Regions from separate parts of the Homo sapiens genome. Here regions 1, 3, 4, 5, 6 and 7 are each linked to region 2. The links are contacts of gene promoters, found by promoter capture Hi-C in blood cells and fetal thymus (Javierre and others, 2016). All regions are on one chromosome and are shown on one strand. Each heading gives the region's core, a stretch centred on a gene start or on the middle of the fragment in contact. The rest is flanking DNA. Distances are from core to core; before and after follow the strand shown. Region 1 overlaps DNM3 (dynamin 3). Region 2 holds the start of PIGC (phosphatidylinositol glycan anchor biosynthesis class C). Region 3 overlaps DNM3 (dynamin 3). Region 4 overlaps DNM3 (dynamin 3). Region 5 overlaps DNM3 (dynamin 3). Region 6 overlaps DNM3 (dynamin 3). Region 7 overlaps DNM3 (dynamin 3).

Region 1 (3,188 bases), core at 689-3,188, 460 kb before region 2:
ACACACACACATATTGTTTACTCTTTTACCTGATTAGAATTTAAGCTTCGTGAGCCTAGAGACTTATTTTCCCCCCTTAATTATATCCCAATTTCTAAAACAGTTCTTGGCAAGTAGAGTGATCTCAATAAATATTAATCAAATAAATAAATGAATACAGGAATCCTTGAATCTGTCTGGGGGACACTATTCTCAACAAGACACTGCAAATTGACCAAGGGGTTGACAAAATAAATAAAAATACACAAAGGTTTGAGATGGTCCTGAACAATTATCATCTCTTGATTCCAAGATAAAAGTATTTTCAAGAGTTTGAGAACTCATTTAAATCTAATTTGAAAATTGCATTGATTTTACACCCTTCCGGAAGGGCATGTTTCCTGCAGAGAAAGCAAGTAGGTGCCATCTAGTGGCAACAAAGGAGATCCACATTTGTGTTAACTGGAATGTATCGATTAGCAGTGATTGAAAATGTAGTTCCTGATCCAGAAGCTTATGAACTCTATGACAGAACAGTTGTGATAGCCATAAGTCTTGAAGGGTGCATTTTCCATGGAATATATGGCATTGAAAAAAACACAGTTCCATTTCTTCTAAATTATTTCTAATTTTTCCTTTTAATTTTTGCTTGTTTTCTGGGATTTGACTTCTTTTGTTCTTTTGTTTTTCGTATTGTTTTGTCCTCTACTTATCTATATACTCTTACATTCACATGGTACTGGCCTAGGCTTTGAATGGGTAATAAAATAAAGGCTCTATCTTCTGGGAATTTATATTCTAATAAAGACAGTGCCTATGAGGGTAAGTATAGAAGAACATGCCTTATCTTGATGAACTGATCTCTTCAGGCCAGATTTCTGCAGCCTGTTGAGGCTTTACTGTTGGATATACTTCCAGCATTAGAGGAATGAGCTTTCGGGAGACTTAGCTTGCTGTTTTTCAGAAAGTGGCACATTATATGGAGAAACTAAGATAGAAAGAGAAATACTCATGTCCATGCATGTTGTCAGGAAAGACAGAAATTAAATCCGTCTCTGATTCTCATTCTAACATCCAAAAAGCTAGGTCATTTCAATTCTTTGGTAAATTAAAGTAGAAACTTTTTGGTCCACTTTGGGAGCTTGTGACCTTTCCAGCCAGAGTGGCTGGGGTTGGTACTGGGAAATCTTTGCCACCAGAGGGCCTGAGTGGTGATGTGACAAAGCAAGATAAGGGTGTGAGGCCCAGGAAGGAGACAAACTTAGGGTGCTGACACTCACATTAATGCACACGGCCTTTTCACAGCTGAGTAGCACCAGAGGACAAAAGTTGGACTAGTGGAATATGACAAGAAAGCAGGTTTCATACCAAACATAAATATTTTCCAATCAGAGCTTTTTCCAATGAGATCAAAGTTTCTGTTACCCAATAGTGGATGGGTCCGAGCAGAGACTGGATGACAACCTGCCAGATTTGTTGAACCTATGAAGGTTCTCTGATTCTCTGGAAGACCTCTTTCTCCCTGCACATGTAAAAATCCTCCCTACTGTTCAGTATTCAGTCCATACCCCACTTCCTTTTTTGGGTACCACAGCTTAAAATCATCTTTTCTATCTCTACCTTTCTTATCATTTTAAGAGCAGGTTAGCATTTACATTATGCTACCTGCATTAATGTTTTTTCTCAGTGGTCTAATCCTTAGCTTTTTGAGTTAATGCTAACCTGCTTGAAGACACGGACCACATCTGAGCTAAGTGACAAATGATTCTGTATTGTTATCTTTTAGCATTGAAGGTGTATGTAAGACTCTTTTATCCTTTCCACACAGTGTTAAATCTAACCCTTGTTGATCTACCTGCAGTAACTAAAGTGCCCGTGGGAGATCAGCCACAATAGCTCTCTTGCTATTGACCTTGCCATTTCATCTTCAAGAGTGAATATTAAATGTTTATGATGGGTAATGGTAGTAAAGCTACCAATAATTGCCACATCTGGCTTTTTTTTTTTTTTTGAGATGGGGTCTCACTTTCTTGCCCAGGCTGGAGTGCAGTGGCATGATCACAGCTCACTGCAGCCTCGACCTCACAGGCTCTTATCTGGCATTTGGGTCCAAGATGCTTAGGCATAGTCTAAGTTTAGTTGTACAATTCTTCATTGAGATATTAGATAAACTAAAATCTTTGTGGAGATTTGTTTCTTTGTTAGATTTATACTCATTTAAAAAATCTAATAGTACTGTACTAGCTTTTCTTTTAAATTGTGGTGTTTTTTACATACCTGATTTCTCTCAAAGTAGGTACAGAAATTGATAATACACCAGCTTGTAGGATGTTACTGAAAATTTAAAAACCCAGTTTTGTTATTTATGTAGTTATTTTAGTGTTTTTCCCTCTGCTGAGGGATTTTTTTAAAATTTTACATTACAGGTAAATATTTGCTTTGATATAATACTCTATAACTTTTTTCCTTGAGAAATTGTCTTTGTATAAGTTGATGTGGTATTTTCAATAGTGTGTTTTTAAGCTAAAGGATTCCATATATTATTTATTTTTAACAAATTAAATGATTTCCCTTAACTTATTTTGCCTTCTGAAGATATATTTATATAACTTGGCATTCCATCCTGATGAAATGGTGATACTGAAGAGGGGAATGCTAACAGAACTCAGAGGTATCCCAGATCTAATGTCTTTAACAATCAGGTGCTGTTGTTTGCTTTATCATTTGGATAGCCAAAATTTTCTTTAAATTATTTAATAGGCTAGATGGTTTAGGGACTGGTTTTAGTATTTAATTGCTTATCTGAAAATTGGCAAATTTAGCATCTATAGCATTTGTACTATGTTTAATATTTCTAAAGTATTAATTGTGATTCTTAGTAACTACTGTGTTCTGTGGGATGTTCATGAAGGAAGAAGAGAGAATATTGGATACTTTGACTTATAATTAAAGAAACTTTTATAATTATGGCAAAAATGCATGAATTTAAGTTGTGTCATTTTGGTTTTATTTTTGTAGAATATGCCGAGTTTCTACATTGCAAAGGAAAGAAATTTACAGATTTTGATGAAGTTCGCCTTGAGATTGAAGCAGAAACAGATCGCGTGACTGGAATGAATAAAGGCATTTCCTCCATACCCATTAATTTACGAGTCTATTCCCCACACGGTAAGTAAAATAATAAAATTCCAAATTCTTCTCCTCAAACA
Region 2 (3,223 bases), core at 74-2,573:
ACCAACCTTTCCTTGTTTTCAAAGGCAGGGGCTAGGCCTACAATAGATGAATTTGTCTCTGAGGCAGGACAACACAGCCAAGTTCCTAGAAAAAGAGAGACTGTGAACCTACGAAAGTTGTGAAAGGTCAAGAGTAGTACTGAGATAAAGTCAAATCAACTCAGTTTACTAAAAGTCTGAGAAAAATGTATGTGGTAGTCACCTTATGGGACATTAAAACTGCATTTCAGATTTGAAAATTATAATTCCTTGAATAATAATAGACATCTGTTAGCTATCGCTTATTGAGTACCTACTATGTGCTAAGTGCCTTATGTATCTTCTTTCACTTAATCCTCACCACCTTGTAAGTTAGTATTAGTCCTGCTTTGGTAAAAAAGCTGAGATTCAAGATGCTTAAGTAACTTTGCCCTAAGGTAACAGAGCAGAGCCAGGATTCAAACCAAAGTCTTATCCCAAAGCCTGTGTCTCACATTGTATCTCCCTCTAAAGCAGTTCTTAACTCAGTGGTTCACATATCCCTTAGGTATATCACATTGCATGCTTATATCTGGATTTGTGTAAATTTATAGGGATAATATCCATAGTTTTTATTGGTTCTCAAAGGCATGTTATTTGTATTTTTTAAGTTACCAATCCAAAGACAATAGTAAGCTGCACCATACAGAAAGGTATGAGCTCTATAGTTTAACCAAAATCAAAGCCTCAAAGAAACTAGACTCTTCTTCCATTAGCTGAGCTTAGCATCCTTTAAAGAGCTATCAATCTACTCAAAACAAGGAAACTCTTGAGAGGATCGAAGAAGATAATCATTCCTTTTTCACAATGAGAAAACTAAGAGTCAGAAACACCACAGCCATCCGGCAAATTTGAGAAAAAAAAAATTCATATTGCCCGACTTTATTTCTTCCATGATAGACCACAACAAATATTGCTTGGCAAGCCAGACACCGTTACCCCCTCTGCAGCAGGGATCCCAGCCCGGGAATCTTAAGGCCGCCGCCGGGGTTGGAGGGTCTGCGACGCCCAAAAGGGCAGCGCCCGCCCGCAGAGTGGGGCTGGGAGGGGACGGGGTAGGGTAGGGTGACCCCAGGGTGCGCCTTCACTCTTCTGGCACCCCATTTGGCTTTTTGGGTGGGCCTCCCACTTCCGCCGCCGCCCCTCACTCAGCCTTGGGTCTGCGGGAGGCAGCAGAGGAAAAGGAGCCCCGGAAACACTGACCGTTACACGGAACCCACCTACCCGAGAGTTCCTAGGGTTGCGCAGCTGGGGGACGGCGGCACCCAGCCTTTTTCCCGCTTCGGGGCGCCGGGGCTGCGACTGTGGCCAAGCACTTCCGGGTCCGCCGCAATCTCCTTAGCGAGGGCACCCTTCCCCGGCTGGAACCATCGCGACGTGACTGCTGCCCCCTCCTGGCTGCTCGAAGGACCTCCGGTCTCCTCTCCTGGAGACTGGCCCAAACCCGAATGCTCTGAGCCTAGGAAGGCAAATCCCCAGCAATCCCCTATTGAAAGATGGGATGTGCCATCTGAAGGACTGGGTAAGGCAAGAGAGGACAAGGAAAGAGGCTGGGCCAGTAGGTGAGAGATAATGGCCGCTTTTGTTGCGCTCCTTTATTAAGTCAGGCCCTCAGCTGGGACTTCCCGTGCATCCATGCGTTCATTCCACAGATACTGATTGAATGCCTGCATGTAACAAGCCATGCTTGGGGTGCTCATGATACAGCCGTGAATGAAACACACAAAAATTGCTGCTCTCATGAAACTCTCTTTTTTGGTGCATTGACCTTTACACTGATTATATCATCTCCCCCCTCAAAGAGGACAAATCTAAGGCTCAGATAAGTTGTATTTGTCCAAAGACAGGCACCTGGGAAGTAGATGAACAGAGATCAATATCCAGTTGTCTATAGCTTCAAAGCTTGGTTTTTTTCCTCTTTACCTCCTAAAAGAAGTGAGGACAAGATTGCTAATTAAACTGAGTTCATGGAAATATTAAAGGATATATAAACAGAAGGAAGTAATAAAGAAACAAAGGGATGTAGTAAAACACAGGATACAGTGGAAATAAAAGTCAGAAAACATGACCCATTTACTAGCTCAGTGACTCAAGGCAAATCACACTACCTGAGCTTTGATTTCTTCATCAGTAAAATGGAGATGACATTATTTGCACTTGGCTACTTTATAGGATGGTTAAAGAGTTAAATATAAAAATGGTTTGTAAAGTGTTCACTATATGGCTGCTATTAGCTGACTTTGGCCATCGTAATGATAGCAATGTTTAAGTGTGATATATTCTGTAAAATGTTCTCTATTTCCCTCTAGGCTTCTGTTCCAAAATTTGACAAGATTCCTTGGCTTAGTGAGGCCAGCCTTGTAAACAAGCCATTAGTGCTCAGCCTTCCCAGAAGGTAACCTCTCAGCCACCGAGGGCAAAAGTTTTACGAAACATCTCACAGAAGATGATTTCTTCTTAAGGGATGGGGACAATTATCAGAGGGCACATTTGATCCATTGAGAAACTCAAGTCAAGTGCTTTAAAAATAGAAATAATCCGGGTTTCTCAGAAAAAAATGATCACTGAGTATAGGCCTGGCTAGAGGAGATGAGATCTCAAAATTTTTCCCTCTCCACCACTACCACTCAACAGTATAAGATAATTTTTCCCCTAGACACTGTCTCTCAAAACACTTCCATCCTCTTTCTCACCCCACATTTTCTCCACTGCTGTAGTCTGAAATTTTCACATTTTTACCATCAAAAGTCTAGAACAGTAAGTTCCCATCTTTATAGAATAGTAACTCTGTATGTAACTTTGAGGCACCCTCCTACATTCCTGTTAGTCCTACTCCTTCCAAACAAACTACTATATGACACATAAATCTATTTTTCAAAATTGCAGGAATTACATATCTAGGGAGCATTTCAACTGTCTCTTGAAATAATTGGGTTACCGTGTCCCTTCTCCATTTTTGATGAAATGGTTCCTAAGTGTAGTGATAAACCCCACTCTGGGAAGGGGACATGGACAGAAGGGTAGGTGTGAGGTAGTGTTGGGGTGAATGAGAGAAACCAGAAAGAGGGCAGAGAGAAAGAGAAAGGGCAGGCATAGAGGCCATTCCAAAGGCACACGACAGACTAAAAAGGAATGACTCCTTGGCATTCGAAACAGCTCGTTAGAAAAGCCAGACTCCCCAAAAAGAGTTTCTCCTCCTGTTGAT
Region 3 (3,088 bases), core at 272-2,771, 350 kb before region 2:
TTTTCTCATGCATTCCTGGAAGAGCAGGAAGCCTGGAGGGTGCTGGAAAAGTGACATTTAATGTGGAAAAAGAAAGTAAGGAGGAGATCCGAAGCCCTTAGGAGAGTGCTACTCAAGACGCTGTGTGCGCCAGGGCATGAGGGCAGCCAGAGGGCGGTGTGGGCACATTGGATCCTGGTTACCTCTTTCACAGCCTCACCTACAAGACCTGAATAATGTAGATTTAGATTGTTCAGAGAAATGGTTAAAGAGGAAATAATTTCATCGTAATTAAGAGGATTAACCATTTAACAGAAAGCTGGAAAAATAAAAAACAAGGAAGGAAGAAGTTGAAATTAGCAAATTTTAAATTGGAAAAAAATATATACACAAAATATTTTTAGCAACCAAATACAGTATGGCCTTTCACCACCCACCCCCTGCCCACCTTCAGTTGAATGCAGTGTTTTTTCATGAGTTTGAGTGAAGGAAAGCAGCTTAAATGTATCAGAGGAGTTTATTAAAAACTTATTTTGATCAGCTGTTCTAAGTGTGGTGTTGATTTCTAACTTGTTACTGCAGCACAACATCCCATCACTTTAAACAGTTGACTGAGAGCTTTAGTCTCCCTTTTCTCTATTTTAGACCATTTCATTGATCTCCAAAACAGCTTCCATAAACTATTAAACAATCTGTAAGAATACTGAGTATTGCTGATCTTCCCAGAATAACCAAAATGAGTTGTGTTTCTTATATTGATACGTGTTTATTCATGGATCCACCAAAAGAAAGCCTTTGTCCTTTTGAGGGATAGAGTAACCTAGTGATGAAACGTGTGGGCTCTGTTGTTAAGTTGTTGGAGTCCTTTCTGGCTTTTAACCCTCTGTGCTTATGTCTAAAATGAGGGTTATAATGGCATCAACTTCATTGGGCTTTTCATCGAACAGATATTTCATGAAACCAACCATGTGCCATGTCCTTTGCAGGCCCTGGGGATATAGCAGTGAACAAAACAGACGCAAACCCCTGCTCATTAGGAGCTTACAGTCTAATGGAAAAGGGCAGACAAACACAAAAAATAAATACACCGTGTAGTGTATCGGAAGGTGAGAAATGCCAGACAGAAAAATCAAACAGGGTAAAGGGGATGATAGTCTTGGAGGAAGGGAGGGATGCGGTTATAAATAGGGTGGTCAGAGTAGTCCTAACTGAAAAGAAGGATTTGAATGAAGACTTGAAAGAGATGTTGGGAACCATGCAGATGAAAGCGGGAAGTACATCCTAGGGAGCTAGCTTGCCTGAAGGCTCTAAATGGGAGTGTATTGGGTGGGTTTGAAAAAGAGCAGATGCCAGTGTGGCTGGAACTCTTCAGGGAACAAGGTGAAGGGTAGGAGGAGATGAGTCAAAGAGGCAGTAGTGGGGGTTGCTTGAGTAGGGCCTTGTAGACCCTTGTATGGACTTTGGTTTTTACCATTAAATGGAATGGTGTTGATGCAGTACACGGTTTCGAGCAGAAGAGTTAACATAGTCCTTCTGAAAGTATCACTCTGGTGTCTGTTAAGAATAGACTTCAGGGAGACAAGTGTGGAAGCAGAGACCAGAGAATAAATGATTACAGTAATCCAGATGAGGGATGGCAGTGTCTTGGACCAAGGTGGGACCAATGGAAGTGATGAAAAGATGGTTAAATGTTAAATTTATTATAAGAAAGTAGTCGACAGCATTTTCTGATGGTCGGATATGGGTTGTGAGAGAAAGAGGAGACAAAGATTTTGGCCAAGGAACTTGAATGTATGGTATAGAATTGCCATTAGTTAAGAGGAGGAAGGAAGACTGTGGGTGGAACAGATTTTAGGGGGGATTTCAGGAGTTTAGTTTTGAAATATTAAGAATGATATGCCCATTAAATACCCAAGTGATGAGGTTAAGTTGTTAAAAACATCAATAAGTCCAGAGTTGGGACTCATACATATTTGGATCTACATGGCAGATCCAAACCAGAGATGCATTAAAGGAGTTGTCAGAATATATTGGAATTCAAAGCAGTGAGACTGGACAATATCACAAAGAGTTTGTGATGCGGAGCCATGCTACTTGGTACTACCACTTATTAGCTGAGTGATTTTGGGAAAGTCACTTAGCTTCTCTCCTCATCTATGAAACAAGAAGAATAATCGTAACTGCTTCATGGGGTTGCTGTGAGAATAAAAATGATTAATATCGATAAAGCACTTAGAACATGGCATATACTCAATAATCATTAACTTAATTTCCATTACAACTCTCCTCTGTACCTGTGAGACACTGCAAATATGTCAACTCGTATGTTATTAATGTTACAATGCAGCTTTTCTTTAAGTGGTGTTATTATATTTTTGGTTTATATGCTACTAGGAGTTATGTGCTATTAGGAGTCCCATTGAGTTGGTTTTGCTTCCAGAATTAAACTGACCTGGAATTTTGGTATTAGGTCTGTCTCCATTGATTTTTTTTTTAAAGCCTGTATAAATTTTAGTATTTGTTACTTGTTTAGGAAAAAATTATATGTGTCTCTTCAGTGCTGCTTTCCTTTGCTTTTCTCAGTGCTCAGCAGAGGAGCAGTCAGGTTCACAAGAAAACCACAGTTGGAAATCAGGTAGGAATTGCATAAGAGAATCAGTGTATGCATGTCCCAAAGAATTTGAACTAAATCGCTTGATTGACTATTTTTTTAATGCAAATTAATCACGTGCAAATTTTGCTTGAAATGCAGCTTTCATTTTGATTTGTTTTTGCTTTTAAAATTTTTGGAGTGAATTGCATTTCTTTTTGGCTATTTTGTGCAGTTAACCATATTGATTTATTTTAAATAACCTTTCTGCTACTTGCTCTGCATTTCAAATTTGACTCCTCATGTCCTATTTTGCTTGCTTACGTTACCCCTAAGTTTAATTTAACATTGAGTTTGTGAGTCAGTTGAAGGTTAAAATGTGGTGAGTAGTTGCATGAGCTTTCTGGGGTTGCTAACTAGTTCACACATTTGCACAGCTTGGTATCAGTGAAGGGACAGCTCATGAAGAACGCAGTTGTTGGATGTAATCTCTGCCACACTAAATTCTTGTTGGTTAAT
Region 4 (3,244 bases), core at 625-3,124, 440 kb before region 2:
GATTACTTGATCATGAGTTCATTACCCATGAAGACTATAACTGTGCCTTTTATCTTCTGAGCACAGCAGTATTTTAGCATTACCCATCCAGTTTGTCATCTACAATAGAGGGCTGTTCAAAGGCCTCGCTAGGGAGGCAAATGTGTCTGGAAATCCCTTTCACGGTGATTTATTTCACAGCAAATGAATTTCATTTCTAAATCTAGCATGACCAGAGGTCTTCCTAGAGTATAAAACCATCCCAAGAGGAATGTGAGACCTCTGGCTGGGAAAGAGGGCACCATCTTCTCTTGAGATGAAATTCGTGAATTGGGCCAGAATTAACTACTCAGCTGGTGGCAGACTTTTAAATTCATCTTATGGGGGTGTGTCCCTACATACCTCCTTCAGCGTTTGCTTTTTGATATCTCCCTCTTAAATCTGGAAAATGTTAAAAATCCATGGGTGATGTAAACTGATATTCATTGACCTTTGGCAACATTTAGCAGATATCCAATCTGCTGTCTGGTCATAGAGATGGTGGAGGTGCTGCTTAGTTGAGCAGAAGCTTCAAACATCCAGGCATTGTCAACACTCAGAATATAAAGAATATGTTTATAAACTGCAAAAATAAAAACAATTCATGGAGGAAACCTATTTTCCAGGTACTATATCTGTCTCTGCACCTGTTCTTCACCCCAATTAGATTTCCATTTTACCTTAAAATTCTTTGCTTATTTGACCAATTTAACAAATGTAATAGATGCTAATTAATTGCATTGAGCGCCCAAATGCTACTTGATATTTATTGAATCAGTTAATATGTATGAAAAAATCAGATTAAAAAATGACTTCATATGTAGCTTATAGAAGCCATGTTTTGACTTCTTCAGGAATATGTTTTTGAGCTTTTTATAATATGGTTGAGACCCATAAACTCAATTATAAAATAGAAACAAAGACTAAACCTGAAGGGTTTGGAGTCTTTGAAAAATTTGTTTTACAAGTTCTATCCAATTCATTGTTCTTTTAAATTGAGAATTTACTATGCATTGGGCTTGAACAAGACAAACGCTAAGTCATGTTATAATTCAGCTTGTTTGCAAAGAGTAGATCATTTATCTGCATGTTGAGAAATGGGCTTGCCCAAGTATAGAGGAACACTTTCATTTTAAGCTTTAAAAAAGTAAATTGAGTCTTATTTAGATTTGAAAATATGACAACAAACACATTAGCTTTATAGGCTTAAAAAAGCTTTTTATGAAAGTATATATTCTTTGATATGCTGATTTAATTGGGAAAATGATATGATTATAAAATTTACTGTGAAAAAAAGGAAGAATATTTTTAGGACTTGAATGTGAATGTGTGAGTGTAAAATTTGGATTTTTAAAAAGTAAGAACAAAAGAAAAATGTGAAGGCACAATGATAAAGTGAATGTGCTGTTAAAATAGAGCTTGTTATTATCATCAATGTAAAAGGCCTCAACGTGGATTTCTAATGCGTTCATTCCTTTTTTGCCACTGGGGGTCACTGTAAAGACGCTGCTTGAAGAAGTTAAAAATTTCCCTGATGCTCTTTGTGGAGTTTGAATGTAGAAATTTAATGTAGAAAAGAAACACTGTTCATGAAAAAGACTTAAAAAAGTAAGAAGATAATAAATATATTCTCTCTTTTTCTGAATTTAATTGCCAATTAGTAACATGAATCTTCATTTTTTTCAGAAATTCTCTTTATATTAATATATGGATGTTGCATTGCTATTCAAGGTAAAAGTGTTTAATAATGATGACTTTAGTGTTACAGAATAATTGTGCTCTTATGTCTTTCTTATTTCAAAGACATTAAAACACAATTAATAGTTTCCTATGCAATTACATCTTACTCCTGGATTCTGATGTGACCATGAGTTTCTAACATTTCCATTAATGTAATAGCTCTTTTAAAAGTTGTTATAAAAACATATTCTACAAGCCATCCCCAGAATATATAATTAAACTAGATTCATACAGTTATTTTGTTGGCAGTGTAAATAAAATATGACAATGAAAAAAAGCGAAATTCTTCTAAAGTTCTGTAAGAACTCCATTTTTCATTGCTGAGTTTTAGGATCTTCCCCTCCCTCCTCTCCTGCCCCCTCCCCTTCCTCTTTTTCCTCTATTTCTTCCCCCTCCCCTTCTTGCTCTCCAACATTTCTTGAGTGGCTGCCAGGTACCTTGAATACAAGAAAAACTATTTTTTTCCATTGAGATAAGAGTGAAGTAAGGAAGTGTACATGAGGCCTATATGTAGATATCTGGAGAGGTATTTGAATAATTTATTGCCTATTGACATAGATTTTTTCACTGTAAGTGGGGAGCAAGGCTATCAGCTGAGGAAGAACTGGGGTGGGGGTGAGGTAAGGATGATAAGAGAGAAGGGGGTTGTGTAAGACATTTGGGGAGAAATGTATTTTGACCAGCTGCTGTGGAGAAATATGGAAGGAGAAAGTGGGCAGCACTGGGGGACTCTATTGAGGCCATAGTGCATCTGCACCAAGCTTAGTGGTTGTGTAATTCCCAAAACCACTCAGCAGCTGGGAGGTTGAAGAGGCAAATACTTGGGTTGCTTTTAGATCAGGATTTTGCAGGGAGGGTTGAATGGAAGATAAAAGTGGGCAAAAGAGTTGAGGATATTGGCAAAATAATAATTGGAAAGACAGACTGTGAAATACTTGGAAGAAAGTGAAATAAAAAAGAATCTGTATGTTTTGAGGAAGATGAAATGGTTTCAGGGATGGGCTTCTGGACAAGATTGAAGAATAGCAATGTGTTCCTATAAAGAGAAGAAAGAAAAATGGGAGAATAGGAGTTTGTGGTTAAAGAGATGTATATTAGAGTTTATGATTTACAGCTGGAACAAGTCCAGGTTATAAATGTCCAGGATGTGGTCATGGGAGGAAATTGCTAAAATGGCCTGCAGTTGAAAAATTATTGAATAGAAGCAGGCAAGGAACTCAATAGCCAGCGGACTGGATACATCGTCCTCATGCACATTGCTGCTGCTTGGATAATGGCGGAACTAAGGGGAGTGAGGACTAACATGATGATGCTAAAACCTTCAAAAAATGTGTGTGTGTGTTTGTGTTGAAAATGGGTGTTGTAGACATTTGGTAGAAGACAGCAACAAGGGGGAATAGAAGCTGCTTTACCCAGACGATGTCAGGTTCCAAAGCAATGTTTTAATGTGAAGGTGGAAGATTTGGGTTTGGAGAAGCACCAAGGA
Region 5 (3,125 bases), core at 521-3,020, 370 kb before region 2:
TATTTTCTGTGGGGGAGAATTTAAAAAGTTAAAGGAGTCTCTTTGTGCTTCATGGGATGAATCATGCTCGAAGAGTAATGGACAAGACCATGGGCTCTGGAGTCCTAGGACTTAGGTTGGAATCCTGAACCAACCATTTTTGAGCTGTTTAGTCATGGGCATGAGTTACTTAACCTCTCTGTGCTTCACTTTTCTCCTCTATTAAATGGGGTTGGCCGGGCGTGGTGGCTCACGCCTGTAATCCCAGCACTTTGGGAGACCAAGGCAGGTGGATCACCTGAGGTCAGAAGTTAGAGACCAGCCTGGCCAACATGGTGAAACCCTGTCTTTACTAAAAATACAAAAATTAGCTGAGCTTGGTGGCACGTGCCTGTAATCCCAGCTACTCGGGAGGCTGAGACAGGAGAATCGCTTGAACCCAGGAGGCAGAGGTTGCAGTGAGCTGAGATTGCGCCATTGCACTCCAGCCTGGGTGACAAGAGCAAAACTCTGTCTCAAAATAAATAAATAAATAAAATAAAAAAGAAATGAGGTTAATAATTATATCTGTCTTTTCTGATTGCTGTGAATAGTGAAAGAGGTAATTCATGAAGTTCTTAGCGCCTGACACGTGGTAGACACTATATAAAATGTTAGTCATTATCCTTTTCTTTGTCCTGTTTTCCGACTTCTTCATCTTTGAATTTTATTAAGTGCCAACTCAGCAGGAGCACAGTGCTAGATGGTATCTAGGGTTCTGCTTTCTTCCTAAGGAATTGCTCTGCTGGTTTTGAAGTGTTTCCTCAACATAACAAGGTTACTTCTGATGATAGTTTGTGAAGCCTCTCCCATCACCTTGACATCCTTCTTTAGGAGTTGATGATATTTCATTTTTGCTTCCAGAATGGCAATGAATATCTTCTGTAAAATAACATAATTTATCTCTGCTTCTTTTTTGGTAGTGTAACTTTTTGAGTATTAATACTCAGATCTGCTTTTCTTGACAGCTGGCAAACTTCCCCAGACTCTGCGAGGAAACGGAAAGGATTGTTGCTAACCACATTCGTGAGCGAGAAGGGAAGACAAAGGACCAGGTAAAGAGAGGTCTTCCCTGGTGGGCAGGGAGATTGTGGGAGGTCGAAGGTCTCTGCAAGGTTGTCTGGTAGTTCCCAACAGTCAGCCTGTCGCTTAAAGGAAAAAAAAATAGTGGAACACAACTACATTATGTTTATTTTTACTTATTTATGAATTATACACATACTATATTCATATCTTGTTTATGTTAAAAATATGAGCAAATAAAAAGACTTCATTCAGAAGAATGAGATGCAAAAGCAGTAACAGGAGTTTCATTATTTTTTTTCTCAATGCTCCATGGATCATGCATACATCCTACTTTGAAAACCACTAATCCAGAAACATACCACATTTTCTCTTTAAGACAGAGGTTCTTAACTTTTATTGGGCCCACAGATGGACTCCAGAAGATTCACAAACTCCTAAAACATTATGCAAAATGCTCAGTGTTTTCATTTTTTTCTGAGGAGAGAGTGGACCTAGATTTTCATCAGCTTATCCATACAACCTATGATTGAAAAAAAAATTGAGAACTACTCTTTTAAACATTTCTATTTTGTGAATGTATGTGGTTTGTAAGGAGTGACCCTGAAATTGTTTTCTAATCCTAGCTTTGTAATTTGGAAAGATTATTTTCAAGTGAGGATAATTCATTTAAAAAAGTAAAGGACTACGTGGAAAGAATAAAAATCTTCTTAGGTTTAAATGGATTTTTCTTAGTTACTTATAAAATATTATAACAGGAAATACAAATGGTTTTACATACCCTTGAATTCCATGACACAGCTGCACGTGTGATGTTGTGGAGAGAACACTGGACTTAGGCCATGTGCTCGCCACAAAATAACATCATGTTCTTGTGTAAATCACTTCTTTGGACTGTTGTTTTCTCATGTACAGCATTAATATATTGGTCTATATGCTCTCTGAAAGCCTGTGTAAGTTAGTATTACAGGATTTTGTGATTCTCAGATGAGTGGGAAGGAGGTGAGGGAGAAATGGGGAAAAGGAAGAAGACAAAATAAAAGAGAGAGGAAAAAACCACAGGGAGAGACACACACAGCACACAGAGTGTGCGTGGGGAAGAGGAGCAGGTGGAGGAGAAAGGAGAAAAGGAAGGACAGAGGGATGGAGACCCAGCAGATTGGGACATTCGTGAGTGATTCCAGTAACCACCTTGTCTCTGCTTGAGCTGTGGATTCATTGTCACTACTTTTTATCATTGTGTTTTGAAAGTTAATTAATCACCATTTATAGTTTTCACTTGTTTACCAACTTTCACAGTCTTGGATAGCTGCAATAGCCAAAAGAGGAGAAAACAGGCTTTGTGATTCAGTTGAGATGAACAAATCAGTATTAACTCCTGAGTCAGTGAAATCAAGCCTAGAGCCAGATATGGAGCCCTAGGGCCAGAGGTTCTCCCTAATGTCTAATGTCTTGGCCCCTCCTGGGCTGAGAAAACTTAAGTTCTTAAGAATCAGCTGTACTCCTGACCTTAAGTAAATAAGCTAACTGTTTTAATTTAGTGTTTTCATCTATAATATTCAAATGATAATAAATCCTACTTAACTCTTTAGGATCCGCTGTCAAAATAATATTGGAGAAAATATAGGATAATTATTTAAAGCATTTTAAATATTTGTAATCATATCTATGTCAGTTGCTAGCTTCTTCATATTTCAGAGTTTTTGTTTTAGTAAAATGGCATGTTCAAACTTCACCATGTTGTTAAGATTGTGGGCTCTGGGCTCAGACTACCTGAATTTGAATTTCAGCTCTGTTGTTAACATTTTGTGTAACTTGTGACAAGTTATTTGACATCTTTACACTTCAATTTTCGCATCTTAAAGTGAGACAATAGTGGTAGTTAACTCACAGACATTTTGTGAGGATGGAAAGAAGTAATCAAAATACAAGGCCAGGTGTAGTGGCTCACACCTGTAATCCCAGCACTTTTGGGAGGCTGAGGCAGGCAGATTGCTTGAGGTCAGGAGTTCGAGACCAGGCTGGGAAACATGGTGAAACCCTCTCTCTACAAAATATTAAACAATTAGCTGGGCACGGTGGCC
Region 6 (2,939 bases), core at 159-2,658, 400 kb before region 2:
ACTCTTCTGAGAGTTATAGGCTAAAGCGGAAGGTGTGGAGAAACTATTTCTCAATAGCCCTTGAAGCTATGGCAACCTTGAGATCACCTAGGGATGAATGTGAGGAGAGACTGAGGCTGTGACATTGGGGGAGTAATAGAGCTGGAGCATTTGGGACACTAGGTGGTTGTGATGTCATAGGAGTTCAGGTCCATTTGATTATTCTACATAAAGTTTAATTGATTAACTCTCTATTTCAAGTGTTCTTTAAATACCATTTTATGACTGCAATCAAATGAACAGAAGGCATTGAAAGACAACTATATTTAAATATTTATTCTAATTAAATGTCTAAAATCTTAATGATGTGTATTTTGTATAATCACACTGTGAGTACTACATAGAGTGCAATGTTAACTCTGCCAGTAGGTGCCACTAAGAGCACCTGGAAAAGGATTCTAAGGAATAATCATAGGAAAAGAAAATGAAGAGTGCAAAGGCTTGTAACTTTGACTTGAATCTATTTCTCTTTAACAATTACAGGATGGTTCAGCAATTTGCTGTGGACTTTGAGAAGAGAATTGAAGGGTCAGGGGATCAAGTAGATACCCTGGAACTCTCAGGTGGTGCTAAAATCAATCGTATTTTTCATGAACGCTTTCCTTTTGAGATAGTAAAGGTTTGTGTCAAACGTTATTTTTTTCTTAGTTTCACTTCACTTCCATATTCTGTTTTATACAACTTAATACAATATTGTGTGAGTGGTATAGAACTAACATAGTTCTTTGAACAAAACCTCCATATTCAGGTAATGAAATTCAGGAGAGGAATATGTTCTTACTGATGATTCTGATTTTATTTAATGAGATTTAACTACATTTCAAACACAAATACTAATTGAGTTTCCTAGTTTGTTGTCTAATTAATTTAAAAATATTTCTTAAGCATGTACTATGCACCACATTTCTAGGTGCCAGTGATTAAGACAGAGAAGACCCTTGCTTGTCTAGTGGGGAAAGACAGAAAATTAACAAATAGACAAAATACGAAAGTTTCAAATGTTTTTATGTAACATGATATGAGAGAGGGGATGGGTGAGCCACTTTTAATGGAATAATCAGGCAAATTCTGTCTGAGCAGGAGACATTTAAACTGTGCCCAGAATGGCATGAAGAGGTCAACTGGGTAAAGATCTGGGGGAAAGGGGTTGTTCAAGGCAGAAGTAGCAACCTCGGGTAAGGCACTAAAGTATGACAGGTGAAGAACAGATGTGGCTGATGAAGGAGAGGGGCATGAAGTGAATTCAGAGAGGGAGGAAGTGTCCAGTTCACACAAAGCTTTCTAGGTTGAGGTAAAGTCTTTATACTTAACAATGGGAAGTTACAGGAGGGTTTTAAGCAGTAATGTGACTTGATTTGTTGATGATTTTAGAAGAATAGTATGCCTGCTGGATTGTAAAGAGCCAAGAGAGTGAGGAGAACAGTAGGCCAGACCAGGGGTGGATTCATTTTCTGTGGAGTCTGAAGCTTCTACAATTTTACAGGCCCCCTTGAAGAAGAATACAAAATTATAAACACACAGGCCCAGGGTCTTGGAAGAGGCTTGTGCAAGGGGGAAATGCTGAGAATTAAACTTCTTTAGCTTTCCAGTAAAAGTGCCCCAGCAAGAAAGGATAGAGAGATGGGTGGCTTTGGGGTTTTGGAGATAAAGTTGCTAGGGCTTCGATTGAAATGGGGGAATGGAAGAAAGGGAAGTTTTGAGATGACTTCCAAGGTTTTGGCTTTCACAGCTGAGGGAGTGGTAGTGCCCATCAGATGAGGGAAATGGAGGAAAACCTCTGTTTGTATGGAGAAGTGAATTAGGAGTTCTGTTTTGGATGTGCTAAGCGTAAAATGCCCAATAGGCAGTTGAGTAGTTTTAGGGACCATGCTACTTGTCTCAAACAGAGAGGTGAGTGCTTATGTCTTCGTGTGGGAGGCAAATGGGTAAATAGATAATTTCATTAAAAATGTGCTAAGTAAAGTGATAAACTTCAGCAAAGGGTACTATGGAAACACAGCCCACAGACATGAATCCCAGCTCAAGTGTGTAAGGGAGCCAGGCTTCTGAGCTGAGTTTGGAAGGATGAGCAGCTAGTTAAGCAGGAAGAGGTAGGCTACAGGAGGGGGTGATCCAGACAGGAGAGGAATGAGCTATGAAGCCATCAGTTATGGGTAGAGACCTAGAACAATTCGTCATTCTAGGGCATAAGCTGTGAGGGGAGGAAATGGACAGACAATGAAGCCGGAGAGGCCAAATCTCAGAGGTCAGGGTTGAACTCAATGTTCTTGGGCTATCCCTTCGAGGTCTAAGCTCTGTGACACTTTGGTCCTACTTCCAAATAGATTTATGGTACCTAGCGCTTCTGAGAAATATTTGTAATCTATCCTGTGTTGTCTTTTTAAAATATTACTAATTTTCTTTTACAAAGAGGCCTTTAACTCAAATGATTTAAGTGGCCAGGGACAAAAGACAGCCATTGTTAATTTCAGGACATCTGTACTGCTACTGCACAGCAGGTGAAACTCTCATTTATGCATTCTTCTGTGCCCTCAAATTTACCATATTCAGCAAAAGAATGAAGAATTATACATTTCAAATGAATGGCTAGATTTATGTCCAGAAGGCATCCTTATGCATAGCACTCCATATCTATAACAGAGTTAAAATCCACTGCCCCCAAGCTCCCCAAAATCCCTAGTGTTCTGTGTTGCCTTGAAATTTATATAAACAGATGTTTTGACCATCTGGGTTTAGGTTAGGAAAGACATGAGTATCCACTTATTAATAATGAAGTCAAGTTATTCTCATTCTGTAATGTTCAACAATATTATTCAAAGGAATTAAGTGTCATAACTATGGCTCATTTTGCATCTGCAGATGGAGTTCAATGAGAAAGAATTGCGAAGAGAAATAAGCTA
Region 7 (2,856 bases), core at 357-2,856, 480 kb before region 2:
TTTCTACCATTTTTTAGTTTGTGACTTTATAAAGAAATTACTTTGTTGGGGTGTAGAAAACAATTCCCCAAAATCTAGCTTGTTGACATGCTGAGTGCTTTGAAAATGAAAAGGCCTTAGAAATAGGCCTCAGAACCAAGGTTCTGACTTTCCTCTGTCTCTCTCATCCTCCTTATTTTCCCAAGAAGAAGAGGGGGAGAGATTCTGTCTGGAATTTCCTTATCTAAGAAAGTGTATTTCACAAAGAAGTGCAGTTGTTTTAAGAGCACGCTCCCTAGAAATCTCATCAAATATCCAGGAAAAATCAACCTTCAGAGAAACAGAAGGGATTGGGAATCGTCACCAAGTCACTATGCCCAGACAGACTTTTCATCTGTTCTTCTGAGTGCAATTCCAAGAAATTAACTGGGGAAATTTATTTGCATAATAAGACAACCTTTGTTCTGTGCAGTTCTGTCCACCCCTTACCTTCCCATAACTTGTTCCATCCAGCTTTCAAAGACAATCATTTACAAAATAATATATACCTTACAGGTCCTTATGTCTCTCCTCTGTGAAGAGAGATTTGAAGCCTCAATCATCTGGACCCTCTTTGAGTCTCATACTTTGTATATTGCTTCTGTGTTTATGCAAATTAAATTTTGTATGCCTTTTTCTCCTACTAAACTGCCTTTTGTCAGCTTATTTTTAGCAAACCTTCAGTGGGCACAGAGGAAGCCTTCCCTCTGCCACTACAACTTAATCTCTTTGATGATCACTTTCCATAAAATGGTTTTGAAGATTGAATGAGATAGAGCAAATGAAGATGCTTTGAATGTATACATGTGCTAAACACACGGAAAATGCTCTGTTGTGAGTTCAAAGTACTTTCTCTGCTATTGAGGCTTCTAATCAGTATGATTCTGTGATGACAGAAACTCAAAAGCTTACCTTTTTTTTTCTTCTGATACTGAAAACTTCCATCTTGTCAAAAGACAAAATTACAACAAATTTAGCTTAAAGATCTTAACTGGCTTTTATTTGTGATTCTAGAATCAGGCAACTCCTCATTTTACAAAATAGAATGAGTGTTCCCAATGAATTGAGCAGAGGTTGGTTTAATAGACAGAAATGGACCAAGAAGGCAGAAACGGAAAACCAAAAAAGGCTGGGTTGTTTCAAGGTTACTTTTCTTGCAAAGGTTAAAGCAGAGGGGACTTCATTATCATGCCAGCTAGCACTGGCTTGTTTGGAAATTTGGCTATTATCTCTCTCCTGATATCATGGAAGGTTAGAGAAATAACTTAGTGTTGGCTTGGTGGTGTGGAACTTCAGCTTGAGTGACCCCATTTTGGCTTGGTATGTGTTGGGCTTAGTGCAGGAGCTCAGTCCAAACCGATGGCCTCCTATAACGGTCTTAAGGAATTATTATAGTTGGAGCGAAAGTCCAGTCTTCTGTCCCATTTGCTTACTAAGCTATACTAAGGGAAAAAAAATGGGACTAAATTTAAATATTGTTTTTAATTTTCTGTTGGAACAAATGAGTGATTGCTATATAAAGGTGCATTTCAAGTACCAAATGCAAAATTATGCTATTGTTGTGTTCTTCAAGTGTGAACTTTAGTGGTTACAGCTGAAACTCGTAGAGATGTCTCAGATTCTGCCTTCAATTGGCTTATTTAGCTTTGATGGAAAAACACTTTATTTCTTAGAAAAGCTATAATAACTGTTATCATTATTTTAATAATGACATTTACACGAGCTTTAGCATGTACATGCTTTCTGGGCACTTGTCTAAGTGTTTTCCAAATGTGGGGAGAGAAAGGAGGTGATCCCTTTGCTCCTCATCATAAAGGTCATGGCTGACACTCCTATAAAAAAATGACAGGTTAACAAGAGAAAAGCATAATGATTTATTAATGTGTATAAGCATGGGAACCATAAAAAATAGGAAAACTCAAAGAAGGGCCACATGGTTGATGCTAAAGTACCCTCTTCACTGGGTTAAGAGAAGTAGAGGTGTAGGAGTAATTGGTTTTTAGGGGGAATGAATGAGCACAAAGAACAATGATAAATCATAGTCAGGATGAAGTTCCTGTGAGCTCTGAGGGAGGCAGTGGGAACACGAGGGGCTGAACTTCACTGTGAACAAAAGTTGTCTTATTATGCAGATAGCATCTCCCAGGTAATCTCTGGAGCTGCCCTAACAATAGATGAGAAGTCTGTCTGGACATGGTGATGACTCCTAGTCTCTTCATTGGGATTCCTAGAAACGGGGGGTCTTAAAATAATTGCATTTCTTTGATAAAGAAGCTTTCTTGGTCATATAAAGGAAATTCTAGAAAGGGTCTCTCCCAATGTGCTTCAGCAAAAAAAGATTAAAGAAACAGATAGGCAAGTGAAGGCCAGAGAGAGACCTTGGGGCTGCTTCTTTAGTTCAGCATGTCAAAACACCGTATTTTGAGGTATTGCTCTCTGGGCCCTAATAAATATATGGTCTTATCTAATCCTCACAACAATCCTAGGAGGTAGGTGACACTATCCCCATTTTACATAGAGGAAACTGAGGCACAGAGAAGTTACAGTTTACCCAGAACAGTCAGGGTTGTTTGGAGTATTAACATGAAATAATGTGTGTGACTAAAAGCTTGGTGTGTAGTACAGCAGATTCTCAGTCATTTTTAATTTACTCTAAGGGTCAAGAGTTAGTAAATATAGAAGTCCATGTGACTTTGGGGCTTTCATTGGGCAAAACCACAAGTTTTGGCGGAAACAGATAAAGATAAGCACTTATTCTTATTTGGCATAGATAGTTCCTTCCTTCTGCATCCTACTGCTATTTTCATTTTATCGATGGAATACTTTGAAGCACGAAAA

The links. The method cuts DNA at HindIII sites, captures the fragments that hold promoters and counts their contacts. A CHiCAGO score of 5 or more calls a contact.
Region 1: a fragment that was not itself captured here is called in contact with the fragment with the promoter of PIGC in region 2 in 9 of 17 cell types (M1 macrophages, total B cells, fetal thymus and 6 more); the score reaches 11.1 in M1 macrophages.
Region 3: a contact is called between a fragment that was not itself captured here and the fragment with the promoter of PIGC in region 2, in 11 of 17 cell types (naive CD4 T cells, non-activated CD4 T cells, naive CD8 T cells and 8 more). The highest score is 20.2, in naive CD4 T cells.
Region 4: a fragment that was not itself captured here is called in contact with the fragment with the promoter of PIGC in region 2 in 15 of 17 cell types (naive B cells, total B cells, M1 macrophages and 12 more); the score reaches 24.8 in naive B cells.
Region 5: a fragment that was not itself captured here is called in contact with the fragment with the promoter of PIGC in region 2 in 3 of 17 cell types (naive B cells, total B cells and non-activated CD4 T cells); the score reaches 5.3 in naive B cells.
Region 6: a contact is called between a fragment that was not itself captured here and the fragment with the promoter of PIGC in region 2, in 6 of 17 cell types (total B cells, naive B cells, endothelial precursors and 3 more). The highest score is 7.3, in total B cells.
Region 7: a fragment that was not itself captured here is called in contact with the fragment with the promoter of PIGC in region 2 in 1 of 17 cell types (M1 macrophages); the score reaches 5.2 in M1 macrophages.

What each region holds. Positions count from the first base shown.
Region 1 is chr1:171,984,659-171,987,846 of GRCh38, forward strand. It overlaps DNM3 (dynamin 3), which reads left to right. Exons shown (of 21, transcript NM_015569.5): 3 at 2,998-3,147. Among named protein-coding and RNA genes, the nearest start is that of DNM3-IT1, 120 kb to the left of the region's middle. The HindIII fragment of the contact is 2,897 bases long and covers 491-3,188 here.
Region 2 is chr1:172,442,746-172,445,968 of GRCh38, forward strand. PIGC (phosphatidylinositol glycan anchor biosynthesis class C) reads right to left here and starts at 1,324. Exons shown (of 2, transcript NM_153747.2): 1 at 1,243-1,324; 2 at 1-85. C1orf105 (chromosome 1 open reading frame 105) reads left to right here. Exons shown (of 7, transcript NM_139240.4): 2 at 2,328-2,413. RefSeq lists enhancers at 1,156-1,679, 1,403-1,712. The HindIII fragment of the contact is 3,601 bases long and covers 1-1,918 here.
Region 3 is chr1:172,090,262-172,093,349 of GRCh38, forward strand. DNM3 (dynamin 3) reads left to right here. Exons shown (of 21, transcript NM_015569.5): 13 at 2,563-2,614. Among named protein-coding and RNA genes, the nearest start is that of MIR3120, 47 kb to the right of the region's middle. The HindIII fragment of the contact is 3,923 bases long and covers 1-3,088 here.
Region 4 is chr1:172,001,431-172,004,674 of GRCh38, forward strand. The region is part of intron 4 of DNM3 (dynamin 3); the gene reads left to right. Among named protein-coding and RNA genes, the nearest start is that of MIR3120, 140 kb to the right of the region's middle. The HindIII fragment of the contact is 1,286 bases long and covers 1,232-2,517 here.
Region 5 is chr1:172,067,833-172,070,957 of GRCh38, forward strand. It overlaps DNM3 (dynamin 3), which reads left to right. Exons shown (of 21, transcript NM_015569.5): 11 at 987-1,073. Among named protein-coding and RNA genes, the nearest start is that of MIR3120, 69 kb to the right of the region's middle. The HindIII fragment of the contact is 4,034 bases long and covers 1-3,125 here.
Region 6 is chr1:172,041,487-172,044,425 of GRCh38, forward strand. It overlaps DNM3 (dynamin 3), which reads left to right. Exons shown (of 21, transcript NM_015569.5): 8 at 523-658; 9 at 2,899-2,939. Among named protein-coding and RNA genes, the nearest start is that of MIR3120, 96 kb to the right of the region's middle. The HindIII fragment of the contact is 189 bases long and covers 1,315-1,503 here.
Region 7 is chr1:171,967,320-171,970,175 of GRCh38, forward strand. The region is part of intron 2 of DNM3 (dynamin 3); the gene reads left to right. Among named protein-coding and RNA genes, the nearest start is that of DNM3-IT1, 100 kb to the left of the region's middle. The HindIII fragment of the contact is 1,367 bases long and covers 924-2,290 here.